2 separate regions of the Homo sapiens genome follow, and region 1 is linked to region 2. Evidence: promoter capture Hi-C in 16 types of primary human blood cells and fetal thymus (Javierre and others, 2016). All regions are on one chromosome and are shown on one strand. The core of a region is centred on a gene start or on the middle of the fragment in contact, and the rest is flanking DNA. Distances in the headings are between cores, read along the strand shown. Region 1 overlaps CFAP54 (cilia and flagella associated protein 54). Region 2 holds the start of NEDD1 (NEDD1 gamma-tubulin ring complex targeting factor).

What was found. Contacts are between HindIII fragments. The CHiCAGO score rates a contact against its expected background, and 5 or more counts as called.
Region 1: a contact is called between a fragment that was not itself captured here and the fragment with the promoter of NEDD1 in region 2, in 1 of 17 cell types (endothelial precursors). The highest score is 5.6, in endothelial precursors.

The regions. Positions count from the first base shown.
Region 1 is chr12:96,716,558-96,723,368 of GRCh38, reverse strand. CFAP54 (cilia and flagella associated protein 54) reads right to left here. Exons shown (of 68, transcript NM_001306084.2): 49 at 4,847-4,926; 50 at 2,804-2,964. Among named protein-coding and RNA genes, the nearest start is that of NEDD1, 190 kb to the left of the region's middle. RefSeq lists enhancers at 2,924-3,033, 3,054-3,233. The HindIII fragment of the contact is 3,587 bases long and covers 1-3,470 here.
Region 2 is chr12:96,903,440-96,909,893 of GRCh38, reverse strand. NEDD1 (NEDD1 gamma-tubulin ring complex targeting factor) reads right to left here and starts at 2,637. Exons shown (of 16, transcript NM_152905.4): 1 at 2,594-2,637; 2 at 2,038-2,290; 3 at 1-142. The coding sequence starts at 134. RefSeq lists enhancers at 1,815-1,954, 1,995-2,084 and a silencer at 2,325-2,604. The HindIII fragment of the contact is 8,934 bases long and covers 1-6,454 here.

The DNA.
Region 1 (6,811 bases), core at 428-2,927, 190 kb after region 2:
GGTTCCTCATTTTCTCCCCAGTCTCGTAAAGTTGGAGTACAAAACTCAGGGCTTGATCCTTGGTCCTTTTCTCTCTTCCATCTATTTATACCCCCTAACGGAGCTCATCCAGTATTAAAATTCTGTCTTTACTTTTTTTAGTTGTTATACTGTACTTTTAAATTTGTATTATTCTTATCATTGTATTTTTATTGATGCTTAATAGACATATATACTTCCAGGGTACATAAAATATTTTGATACATTACATAATGTGTAATAATTAAATAGCAGTGATTGGTATATCCATCACCTTACACATTTATCTTTTCTTTATGCTGGGAAGATTTGAATAACACTGTCTATATTCTAAAGACTCTCAGAATACTTGACATCTTCAATTGTACATCTAAGGGCATCTCAAACTACATACATCCAAATTTTAATTCCTGGTGTTTCCCCTAAATAAGCTGCACCCCTACAACCTCCCCATTTCAGTTAATGACCACTTCTTTTTTGACTCCTCTCTTTTTCTCACAACTTACATCCAATATCTGTAAAACAGAATGGCTCTACCTTCAAAATTTACTCAGAATCCAAATACTTCTCATTACCTCCAGTGCTATCACACTGGTAAGAAACACCACCATATTTCTGTTATTATAATAGCCTCCTTAATTCATCTCCTTGCTTTCACACCCTTTTCCTCTTATAATCAATTCTCACACTAGCAGCAAGAGCCAACCCTTTACAATGAAAATCAGATCATGTCACTCCTCTGCTCAAAACTCCACAATGACTCCCCACTTCACTCAAAGTCAGTCTTTACCCTGGCCAAAAGGTCTTATGTAATCTCCTTGTCCACCAGTTACCTCTTTGCCGATCTCCCTTGCAACTCTGCCCCTCACTCACTCCACCCCAGCCACAAGAGGCCTGGAGGTGTCCCTCAAACATGTATCAGGCATGTCTCCATGGCCTGTAACACTTTGTCTATAGATATTTGCATGGATAATTCTCTCATTTAAGTACTTTGTTCAGATGTCACCTCATCAATGAAGCCTGCCCTGACCACCCAAAATGTGGTTCAGATGTCACGACTGATCCCAGATACACACACGTCAAGAGGGTATGAAATGGGGTACTGCTCACATAAAGAGACCTTGCAAGAAGATCAGAGCAGGTTCCCAAACAGGTGGGAAAATGTATGGAGAAAGTAAGGAAAAGAGACTGGCTTGGAGTTTTATGGTGGTTGGTGGGTGGCACTGAGGTAAGAGTTCCTGCACATGGGCCAGGACTTACATGGTTTGAACTTTCCACTAACACCAAAGGAGGGAACAGATGGGCTTTCTTATCTGCTTGCTCAGGTCAGGGGCAGAAAGAGAAGGACAGTGGTCGGGCTTGAAAGCTGTCAGCCATTGAACATCAAAATGGAGTCACACTTATTACAACCACACGATTTTAAAATGGTAACTCGTCCCCCTCCAACCTCTACTCCTTATATTCTCCATAGCACTTATCATTTTTGCCCACACTCTGTAATTTACTTGTGTTTATAGTTTATTGCCAGCATGTTTATTATCTATTAGAATATAGGGCAAGATTTTGCACAATATTGTTATATATTTTGTTTAGACTGTATATATGAGTATTGGGCCACTGATACTTGCCAGGAGCTTAGAACAGTGCCTAGCATATTGAAAGTGCACAAACTTATTTTTTAAACGAATTAATGAATGATAAGAAATGTATGCATTATTAGATGAATCACTATTGAATGTGTCAGAGGACCTCATGATAGAAGTGTTTATCACAAATGGCATGGAGAAACTCTTGAATGTGGATGTCCATATTATTAAATATGAAAAAAGCGCTGTAATATTATTTTTACTACTCTACCTGACTGCTTATATATCTGTGAGCATATGGATACAGAAATTGTATTCTATGCATCTTTATATCTTCACTGCCTAGATCAGAGCCTGGCAGTGAGAGAGTTAACAGATACTGGTTGACTAAATAAATAAATCGATGAACAAACTAAATGAAAGAGCTGACACTAACAATTGCAGCACATTTAAATAATTAGCTACCTACAACAGTTTATTAAACAGTTCAGTGCAATATGATGCAGAAACTTACTTTTTCAAAATAGGTTTGTTTTTAATATTTTAAGTCAATGTTTTAGAAAAAAAGAAAACACTCCATAGCTTTTATTCGTAAAAAGGTTTAGTCTTTTTAAAAAGTAAATTAAATGTATAAAAAAATCAAAGCATTGTTAATTTGTTCATTCTATATATGAAATTAAACAACCCAGCTGTGTGCCTTCATAAAATAATTGCTTTATTGAGAACTGTAATTTTTTTTTTTTTTGAGACAGAGTCTTGCTCTGTCATCCAGGCTGGAGTACAGAGGGGCAATCTCAGCTCACTGCAACCTCTGCCTCCCGGGCTCAAGTGATTCTCCTGCCTTAGCCTCCCGAGTAGCTGGGATTACATGTGCCGCCACAAAGCCTGGTTAATTTTCATATTTTAGTAGAGACAGGGTTTCTTCGTGTTGGCCAGCCTGGTCTCCAACTCCTGGCCTCAAGTGATCTGCCCACCTCAGCCTCCCAAAGTGCTGGGATTACAGGCATGAGCCACCACACCCAGCCAGAGCTATAATTTTAAGTGAAATCATGTATGAAAACTTCCCTGAATAATAAAAAGCAAGCATACTATGGATATAGGAATTTCTAAAACTTACATAAAATTTAAGTCTATTTAATAAACTAGGGTGAAGGAACTCTCTTCAAAGGTATCCCTCCCCTGTGCATGGAGAGACGCACCTGTATGCCGCCCGGTGCCTCTGCAGAGCAACTGCAGCCAGCTGAAGCCGGGCCTCCACCACAATCTCCAGCTCGCCAGCGGAGCACTGAGACAGGGTCTTCTGTTCCACCTCGGACAGAAGGAAGTTTAGCCTGTCCTCAGCTTCCATCAGTAACATCGACTAAGGAAAGGATACCATACATCACGTGAGTTCAGAAATAATACAAATACTGTCTCTTTCTTCTTTAGCAAATATTTTTCATGTACTGAAAAGTAACAATGAATGGAAGACCAAAAAGGAACTTGGTATCTAATTACCAGAGAAGAGAGTTCAGCAAAAAGGAAAAAGGCAACAGAAAACGAAAAGGAAAGTGAAAGCAAGCGTCAGCATGCATGACAGTGACCTTTTCTTGTGTGCACAGCTGGTGCTTACTATTCACAGTAGTTATGTTCTATAAAGTTCTTGCAAACACTGATTACTGGATACTGAGCCATTGCTCCTAGGGGAGACATGGAGAAAAGTACCCGAGAGCCTCTGGTCACAACATTTTCATTAACTGCTCAATACACAGCCTCCTTGTTTAATGTGTGTTTATGGCTAAGGATATATAACAGTATATTTAATATATACTGTTAATTTGCTAACCTTGAACTCACAGCCAATAGCACTCACTTCTGAAGGAAGCTTATCTAACACACATAGCTTCTCCATAAGGGACACCACAGCCCTCTTAACTTAGAAATGCTCCACAGCACTTCAGCACTATGCTGGAGGGTCATTGTAAATATTGACAAAAATTCAAAAAGCATGGTACTAAATAGACCGTGAAAAGGACACTTGTTTACAGTATGAGAGTGGCAACAAAAAGTCAGAGCATCTCCTTGTTCAACTCAGCTGGGAATACGTGCATTGAGCAGCTCAAATTTTTCTGTGCTCTGCGTGTGTTCACGAATAGCCAACAGAGTGCCAAGAGTGTTGATTTTCAGGCTACAAATAAATTTCAGTAGATCTGCAAATTAGCAAACACAGAATCTGTGAATAATGTGGATCAACTGTATTTCAAGTTAAAGTATGGTCACCTAGTTGGTAATGTGAAGATAATGAGATTTTTACAGTAGACAATCAATAGTAAATAGCAGCCTAACATGGCAGAAGATAAAGGGACCAACCAATCTTTCAAGTGACAGGCCACTAAAAATGTATTTGTGCAGAGCAGTGAATATTATATAAATATTAGGGCAATTCAGTATAATGTTTAAGAACATGGATTTTGAATCAAAAAGATGTAGTCCTTCTCCTGGATCTATATTTTATTAGTTGTATGATATTAGTCAAATTCTTAGATGTCTAAGCCTCAGTTTTCTCATGGTTCAGCACAGCACAGTTCAAAATGATTACTACCTACATCATAAAGTTATAAAAATTAAATAATCATGCAAAAGCTGTTGATGCCATTGTCATCACTATTATTGGGAAATGATAAACGGGATGGAATACTCATATCCCACCAAATAATGAATCATGTTTCTTTGTTGTTTTTTTTTTTGAAATGGAGTTTCGCTCTTTTTGCCCAGAATAGAATGCAGTGGCGTGATATTGACTCACTGCAACCTCTGCCTCCTGGGTTCAAGCGATTCTCCTGCCTCAGCCTCCTGAGTAGCTAGAATTACAGGCATGCGCCATCACACCCAGCTAATTTTGTATTTTTAGTAGAGACAGGATTTCTCCATGTTGGTCAGGCTGGTCTTGAACTCCCGACCTCAGGTGATCCGCCCACCTCGGCCTCCCAAAGTGCTGGGATTACAGGTGTGAGCCACCGCGCCCAGCCGAATCATATTTTCTGAAGCACCTTAATCAGGTTGTGAAGTCAAAGCTGGACACCACTGGACATCTACTTTTCTCATGAGGAGTAAACTCCACCTCTGGCTCCAACCCATTCTTACACAAGAAAAGGTAACTGCTCTCACAAGAGCAAGCATAACTCTGAAAGCAGGCCCATCCAGGGCCTAATAGTGGATTTTTGGTAACTAACTTAATGGTTTGAAAACAGTTTCAAACTTACCTTTAGCATGCTAAGAGTGATCTCATCTTTAAGTTTTGTAAGATTATAAAATGAACTTCCATCATCCTTTGAATATATCTCTATAAAGACACAAAATTTTGGAAGGACCAAGGATATCTATGGTTAGTTTAAATATTAATTCTAGGTTTATTTTATTTTATTTTGAGACAGGGTCTGGCTCTGTCACCCAGGCTGGAGCACAGTGGCACAATCTCAGCTCACTGCAACCTTCACCTCCTGGGCTCAAGCCATCTTCTCACCTCAGCCTCCCGAGTAGCTGGGACTACGGGCGCACACCACCATGCCCGGCTAATTTTTGTATTTTCTGTAGAGATGGGGTTTCACTATGTTGCCCAGGCTAGTCTTGAACTCCTGAGCTCAAGTGATCTGCCCACCTCGGCCTCCCAAAGTGCTGGGATTATAGGCATGAGCCACTGCACCCACCCTAATTCTATTAATAGTTTTTAAAACTCATCATTCACAGGAAAACTATCCATAAGTTTAATAATTTTTTAAAAAACACAATGATAATATAGAAACACGGGAATATAGAAACATATTCCTGTATCAAATAGTCCCTAATGTCATATATTAGAAGGCTGAAGCTGATTCTTACAACAAATCAGACAATTCTGAAAGAATTTTTTAGGTATTTAGTGATGTTATTCAAGTTATTGGCTACTGATATAGTTTTTCCTCTTCTGGGATCCCAGGACTCCTGAAAGCCCTCTTCCAGATATTTCTAACATTTCAATAAGATCTCCATGGAAGCATCAGTTCTGCTGATGTGAACAAGCCCCTCAGTCTAAGAGCTGAGCGTGAGACCAGCTGGAAGAGCATAATCCACAATACTCAAATATCTCTTTCAAAATCTCCATCCACGATCCAAAGCCTGCTCTTATTCTGAACAGGGGAGAAGTGAGAGAATTCAGATCACAGTCTTTGCCTGCTTCATTCAACTGGGCTTCTAGACTGTGGGAGAGAAAGATAAACCACAAATCATTTGACTACAAATGACAGAAAAATATATCCACCTGAAGAAATTAAGTTTGTTAAGTACAAAGAAAAATTCTGAAATAACATGGAACTTAATACACCGAACTTCCTCTCCTCTTTCAACAGCAACACTTCCCTACCTGGCTAGTCTCCTAAATTATGAGGGTCTGAATCTAGGGGTCAGCTGAGGATGAGGGAGGGCTAGGGCTCTTGGAAGGCCCAGCAGGAGGATCTGGGACTGGGCTTTTTCACCTAAGGGAGAAAGTAAGAATGACAGAGACAATGATGGAGACAAACCAAATGCCTGAACGTGGTACAAAAGAAGCCTGGAATGCATGTTACCATACAAAAGACCCTAGGAAGAGTTTAACCTAGACATTTTCATGAACCCATGTGTGATAAAATTAACATGGGTCCCACATGAGTGTTCTCCTCTAGAATAAAAAGAAGAGCTAGACAGATAGGCCATCCATAGGCGAAGAGATATAGGAGTCCTGATGCCTTAGGAAGGCTAGTTACCTGCCTGCCACTCTACATCTCACTGACTTCACCTTCTCCATTGCATAGCTGATACCAACAAAACAGGAACCCCAATGGGATGACCAGCAAAAATAACACCATATCTAGGATCTGTGTTTCAGACTAATCATGTTCACTTATATGCATACTCCTCTCCTTTCTGAGCACCTGGCAAGCTATACTTCCTGGCCTCTTTGCAGTTAAATTCGGTCTTATCCAATTACATAAGAATTCCAGACTAAATTCCAGAGTTCCATTTAAGGGCTCATGTGCCACCCTATGGCTTTCTAGGCAAGGTCAGAGCAGAGTGTTTCAGATGGTGTGCCTCCAGGATAGCAGCACTTGGGTACCTGAGTGGCTCTGCAAAACACAGCCCCTTGTCAATCTGAGCAAGAACTAAACCCTTGCTGTGTTAAGCCATGATATTTAAAGACTGATTTGCTATGACAG
Region 2 (6,454 bases), core at 1,388-3,887:
TTGCTGCTCCAACATATTGAGCTGATTCCATGTGGTGATGTGTGTGGGTTGAATTTATCCACCAATGTCATAGATGAAGCATCCCATATTTTAATATCATCTCCTGATGAAGCAAATCTGAGGTTTTCCTGCATGACTGCGCCTACAAATAGTTTAAAACAATGTATTTTAAAAACATTTAAGAATAGACATACTCAAAAAAAGGTCAAAATCTAATCTAAAACAAGTGGCTCTAACTCATTCATTTTTGTTCCAAACAGTGCAGTCACCAAAGCAGTTGAAGTGATTTTCCTAAAACATAAGCCAGGTCGCATTCTCTTAGCTGACCCTTCCAATGGCTCCTCACAGTAATGATAATGAAATCCAGCCTCCTTAGCCTGCCTTACATGTCCTGGCCCCCATGTAACTCTCCTCTTTCTTTTCACTGGCCTTCTCTCTGCCTCATGCAAAGGCAAAGTCATTCTCACCTCAGTGTCTTTTCATTTGCTGCTCCCTGTGCCTAAGATGTTCTCCCCAGATTCCCATGGTCATCTCCTTCTCATCATTCAGGTCTTAGCTCAAATGTTTCCTCCTATGAAAGGCCTTTCCTGACCACCCTGGCTAACGCAGTCCCTTCCTTACCTGGTAAGGGACTTAGCAGTTTACCCTATATCCCAATACCTGATTTCATTTTTTTCATAGCACTTCCTAATATCTGAATTTTTTTTTTTTTTTTTTGAGACGGAGTTTCACTCTTGTTGTCCAGGCTGGAGTGCAATGGTGTGATCTCGGCTCACCACAACCTCCGCCTTCCAGGTTCAAGTGATTCTCCTGCCTCAGCCTCCCGAGTAGCTGGGATTACCGGCATGCACCACCACACCCGGCTAATTTTGTATTTTTAGTAGAGACGGGGTTTCTCCATGTTGGTCAGGCTGGTCTCGAACTCCTGACCTCAGGTGATCTGCCCGCCTCAGCCTCCCAAAGTGTTGGGACCACAGGCGTGAGCCACCGTGCCCAGCCACTATCTGAAATTTTTATTTGTTCTTATAATGTCTGTCTCCCCACACCAGAGTCTTGAAACATTCCTGGCACACAGCAGTTTCACAACAAATAACTACTAATAAGTAACTTCCTAATTTTTAAAAAAAGTATGATAAACTAGCATTTCTGCAGGTCAGAATCCAGTCACACCAGTTTTTCCAAAACTCTAAAATTAGCAATATGGTCAAATGAGACGCCACTAAGTCCCTATACCAATACTTGGACTACGATGCCTTCAATCATTTATTCAGAGCATACAGCTGAAACACGTAATTCTAACAAGGTGATTTCACAAACCAAGGAAGTCTAGAAAACAGAAGGCAAAGAAGCTGCTCTAGACAGGCACTTTAAAGAGCAACAGGTAGTAATGAACGATAAGTGAGAAAAAAAGATGCTCAAAAGTACATGGGAGAAAAGGAAAGGGAGAGGGCACAGAATTATACCTCCCACACCTTCCTAGTATGGAAAGTGCAAGACTACTGCACAGCATTAGTGATGTCACAGGCAGGTCCCCGAGTCACCAATACAACAGCACACCTACGTCTAGTATAAGCCATTTCAGAGGACAAGTTAAAGACAGAATTATAGAAACGTTTCATTCTCGAGACAAAAAGTTAATGTAATTCACTCATGTGCTTCCTTATGCTCCATTCATCCGATACAGTGCTACTAAAAGCCATTAAAGTCACCTGCAGAGATGTAACACAATGTTTGGATTTGGAGCCTTAAACATGTGTAACACGTGCCCCCTTGGTTCCCAAGTCAAGGAACAACTAATGAATTGCTGGAAAAGCGAGCTCTAAGCCCTGTAAACCACAACTGCAAGCTGTGTCTAACTGCATCGTAACCAGGCCTGGTGAGCTGCGGGGTGTAGTGGGTAGATCACTGAGGCCTGGGCTCAGAAAAACTGGGTTCAAACGACCTGCTCCAACTTAGGAAACACAACTCGCCGGGTGATTTAATGTTTGTTTTCGGCTCTTAAAGCGGGGCGGGGAAGAGGACCATCTGCCCACCTACCTCGGTCTTCTAAGAACTGAGCATTAAGGGAGAGACTTTACATGAGTCCCTCAAAGACGGTCCCGTCGAAAGCTAGCAGTCAGGACACAAGGCGGTAACGTCGGCCTGGGTTTAGGGACAGCGGCTACAGGAACCAATTCAACTACACCACTCAGCTGAAATGAAAGTTCTCCAACTTTCAATCACCAAAAATACACTTTACTTGCAGGACAACAGCTCAAGTGAGGCTAACCTGTAAAATGCATCCAAGTACCTGCCAAAAGAAAAGTACTTGAGGTTGACAAAAAAGGAGACAGACTTGTGGAGACGAGGCAAACTTTTCGGAGGCAGCACACCCCACAAGGCTCCGGGAGGTGCGCGACCCCGGCCCGCGCCTCCCCGGACACTTCCCAGCCCAGCGCGCCGCCGCGCCCCCGCCCAGCAACCGCTCCGGGCGCGCAAAGCCCAAGGACCGCCGCCCCGCCCTCTGAGGGGGACGGAGCGGGTCTTAGGATCGGGAGGGTGCGCGGACGCGGCGGGCGGGGGCCCGCTGACCTCAGGGCCTCCGGAACCTCACCTCTCCGCAGCAACACAACAGGGGGCCGCGGCCGGCTCCGCGCTGGGCTTCCGGCTCCCGCCTGGACTGTTAAACTTCGGCGGCCGGAAGTCCCGCCCCGAGTGACGTCACGGGGCGAGGCGCTGCGTGCGGCTGTGGCTTCTGGCCGGACAGAAGTCGGGGTACAGAGGGTCTGGTCAGGGCGGCGCTGGGCAGCCGCGGGGGAAGTTATCCCAGTGTCAGGGCGGGAACTGCGGGCCGGGGCGGCCCTCTCCACGCCCCAGCGACGGAGCTCCGGCCACTGCCAACTGCTTGTCATTCACTTGCTGTTTACTGTGTGCCAGGCACTGTGCTAGACTCTTGAGTGTACAGTGATGGTTTAGCCTGGGGATACAGGGGTACAGTGAATTCTCGTGGTCCTTGGCCTTGTGGAGCTTACAATGCACTATAGGAAGCTGACGTTATTAGATGCTTAAATGGAAAGTGAAACTATGATAATGAAAGGTATAAGATGCACGAAGACCCATAATAAGGGAAACTATTGTGGATGTGGATTTAGGAAAGGATTCCTACATGCGATTTACAAGCCAGGAAACGCGCTCAGGCTGAGAAATAACCCAAAGAGTAGGCGTCTGCACTAACCTACTTCAAAACCCATGATCTTTCTTTCGCATCATGCTGCGAGGTCCGGAACATCAAACATCATCTGTTTGGGAATTCTTTTGAAGGGGATACTTCAAGGTGGAAAAGGAAGTTGCTGAGCCGAGTTTTCAAGTGCCCCTTCCAAAGGTCCTTTTATAGCTCTACTGACAATTTTTGCTAAGAATATTTATCATAAATATAGAGCATTTCTTCTGCAAAAAGTGTTATTCTTTCATCACAACTACATGGGGTGTGTTTCTGAACTAGGTACATCAGCCCCAGTTATCTGCATTCATATTGCAGATAATTGGAAAATTCTAATAAGTGCATTTTTTCAGAGCAGAAATTGAAATCGTAGCCAAGTTACTGAGGTTCATGGGGGAGTGGCAAAAGGAGAAAGATAGCAAGCAGCAACTACCTTAATTGTACAGTCTGCAGTTCTTGAGGCTATGAAATCCAATTTGGGCAGGGAGGAGGCCCAGAAAGTTGGGAACTAAGAAAGTACGGTAAGGGAGTGGGGGCAGGGAGAATGGGAGCAAATGGAGAAAAGAAAACTTCAAACAAAAAGGGCAATTAATTAAATCTCTGAAAATTGAAGCCAGCAGGAAAATTGAGACTAGACTATATGAAAATATATATAATAATACATGTAATATAATATATACATATTATATGATATAATACTAGTTATACATATAAAAATAGATATTTATTGAACACTTTACTAAGCACTGTATTTGTGTATATAGACGTAATGTGTATGTATGCAATATATATATAATTTCATCTTTCTAAAAACACATGAAGTATGTGCTATTATTTGTCCCCATTTTACATATGAGGAAATAGAGGTTAAGTAACTTGTCCAAGGTTACAAGTTTAATAAATGGTAGATTCAGAAGTTAAACCTGGGACCATGAGACTGCAAAGACTGTCCCAGACCTTTATGCTATACAGTCAAGAGCCATAACACAGCGTATAGGGCCAAATGGAAACCTCCATTCCTCTGTCCTCACTGATGCTGCGGCCTCATCAAATCTTACTGGCCCTGAAACAGTCCTGTCATTTTTGTCCGTGCCTCTGTGCCTATGTATACACTGTTTCCTCAGTTCTGTATAATAGTTTAACGAACAATAGATGCCAAATGTTAGAAGCCTTGCTAATATATGAATTATATAAACATATACAGATTTCCAAAAGTAGCCATCACAACAAAGAATATTTCTAGAGACAAAGAGAAATATTTCATAATGATAAAATGGTAAATAACCACAAGCCATTATCAATTTTAAGTGTATAGGTGAACGTAAGAGAATTTTGAAATATATGAAGAATAAGTATCAAAGCTAAAGGAGGAAAAAAGCATACCCATAGTCATTGTTGGAGACTGACAGAATTTTCTCAGTAATTCATAGAACATCCAGATAAGAAAAACAAATCAGAAAAGATGTGGAAGATCTGTACACTTATCAACTATTTTAACTGACATTTATAGAACACTATAGCCAACTACTGCAGGATAAACATTCTTTTCAAATACACATGAAAATGGAGCATATATTGGGCTATAAAACAAGTCAATTGATTTTTAACAGAATAAATCTTACAGACAATACTCTCTGATCACAACAGTATTAAATATAAATAAAAAACAATAACACATCTAGAAAAGCCCCAAACGTGAAATAAAACAACCTTACTTCTAATAACCCATAGGTGAAGGAAAAAATCAAATCACAAATATTAATAATAACAGAAAATATTTGAACCGAGTGATAAGTAAAATACAATAAAAATTCATGGAAACAGCTAAATCAGTGCTTATATTATGAAATCAGTGTTTATATTCTGAAAAAAAGAAAAGTCCAAAATCAATGATCTATGCTCTCTCTTAAGAAACTTAGAGAACAAATTAAACACAAAGATTACAGTACAGAACAATGAAATTGAACAAAGATGAACAATAGAGAAAAATCAATGAAACCAAAAGCTGATTTTTGAAATGATTAATAAAATTGAGAAATCTCTAGCTAGACTTACCAATAAGAAAGAGAAAACACAAATTACCAATATCAAGATTGAAAGAGAAGCCATCAATACAAATCCAAAGGATATTTACAAAAATAAGGGAATAGGATAAACAACTCCATGTCAATAAATTTGGTCACAACTAAAACAAATGAATACCTTGAAAGACAAGTATTAAAACTGACACAAGAAGCAATAGATAATATGATAGCCCTATATGTACCATAAAAATTGAATTCAAAATTAAGAAAGCCATCTCACAAAGGAACCCCAGGATCAGATGGCTTTACTGTTGAATTCTATCAAACACATGAAGAAATAATTCAACATTTTAGGAAAACAGAAAAGAAGAGAATATTTGCTAAACCCATTTTTTAGAGGCAGTATTACTCTGATACTAAACCAGAAAAAGACATTATAAGAAATATCCATAATTCATATCCCTTATGCATGGAGACAAAATTATATAGATACACATATATATGCAAAGTAAATCCAGTAATTTATAAAAAGGATTATAATCAAGTGAGATTTCTTCGAGAAATCCAAGATTGGTTTAACACTCAAAAATCAATTAACATAATTCACCATATTAACAAAATGAGGGAGAAAGCCCATATAATTATATCAATAGATGAAGCAAAAACATTTTTTTTAAATTTAATATCTATCCATGATTTAAAATGCTTGACAAACTGAAAAAAACAAAGGAAGGAAACATCCTCAACTGGTTCAAGGGCGTCTACAAAAAGCCTACAGACAGCACCTTAGTTAATGATGAAAGACTGAATGTCTTCTCCTAAGATTAACACAAGAACACCCAGTCTTACTAGTAGTCCTATTCAACATTCTTCTGGAGGCCCTAGGCAGTGCAATAAGACAAGAAGATGAAAAGAAAGAGAAGAGGAAATAGGAAGAGGAGAAAGGAGGAGAAGGGAGAGGAGAAGAAGAAAACAAGTATACAGAGTGGAAGGGAAGAAGTAAAACTCTTTATTGCAGACAGAATGATTGTGTACTGTAAAATCATAAGGAATCCAGAAAAAAACTCCTAGAGCTATGTGAATTCAGCAAGTCCTATGCAAGGTCAATATACAAAAATAGAATTCTATAAACTAGCAATAAACAATCAGAAAAGTAAAAATTACAATTTCATTTCTAACAACATCCAAAAGTATGACATATTTACACATAAATGTACTAAAATATGTTCAA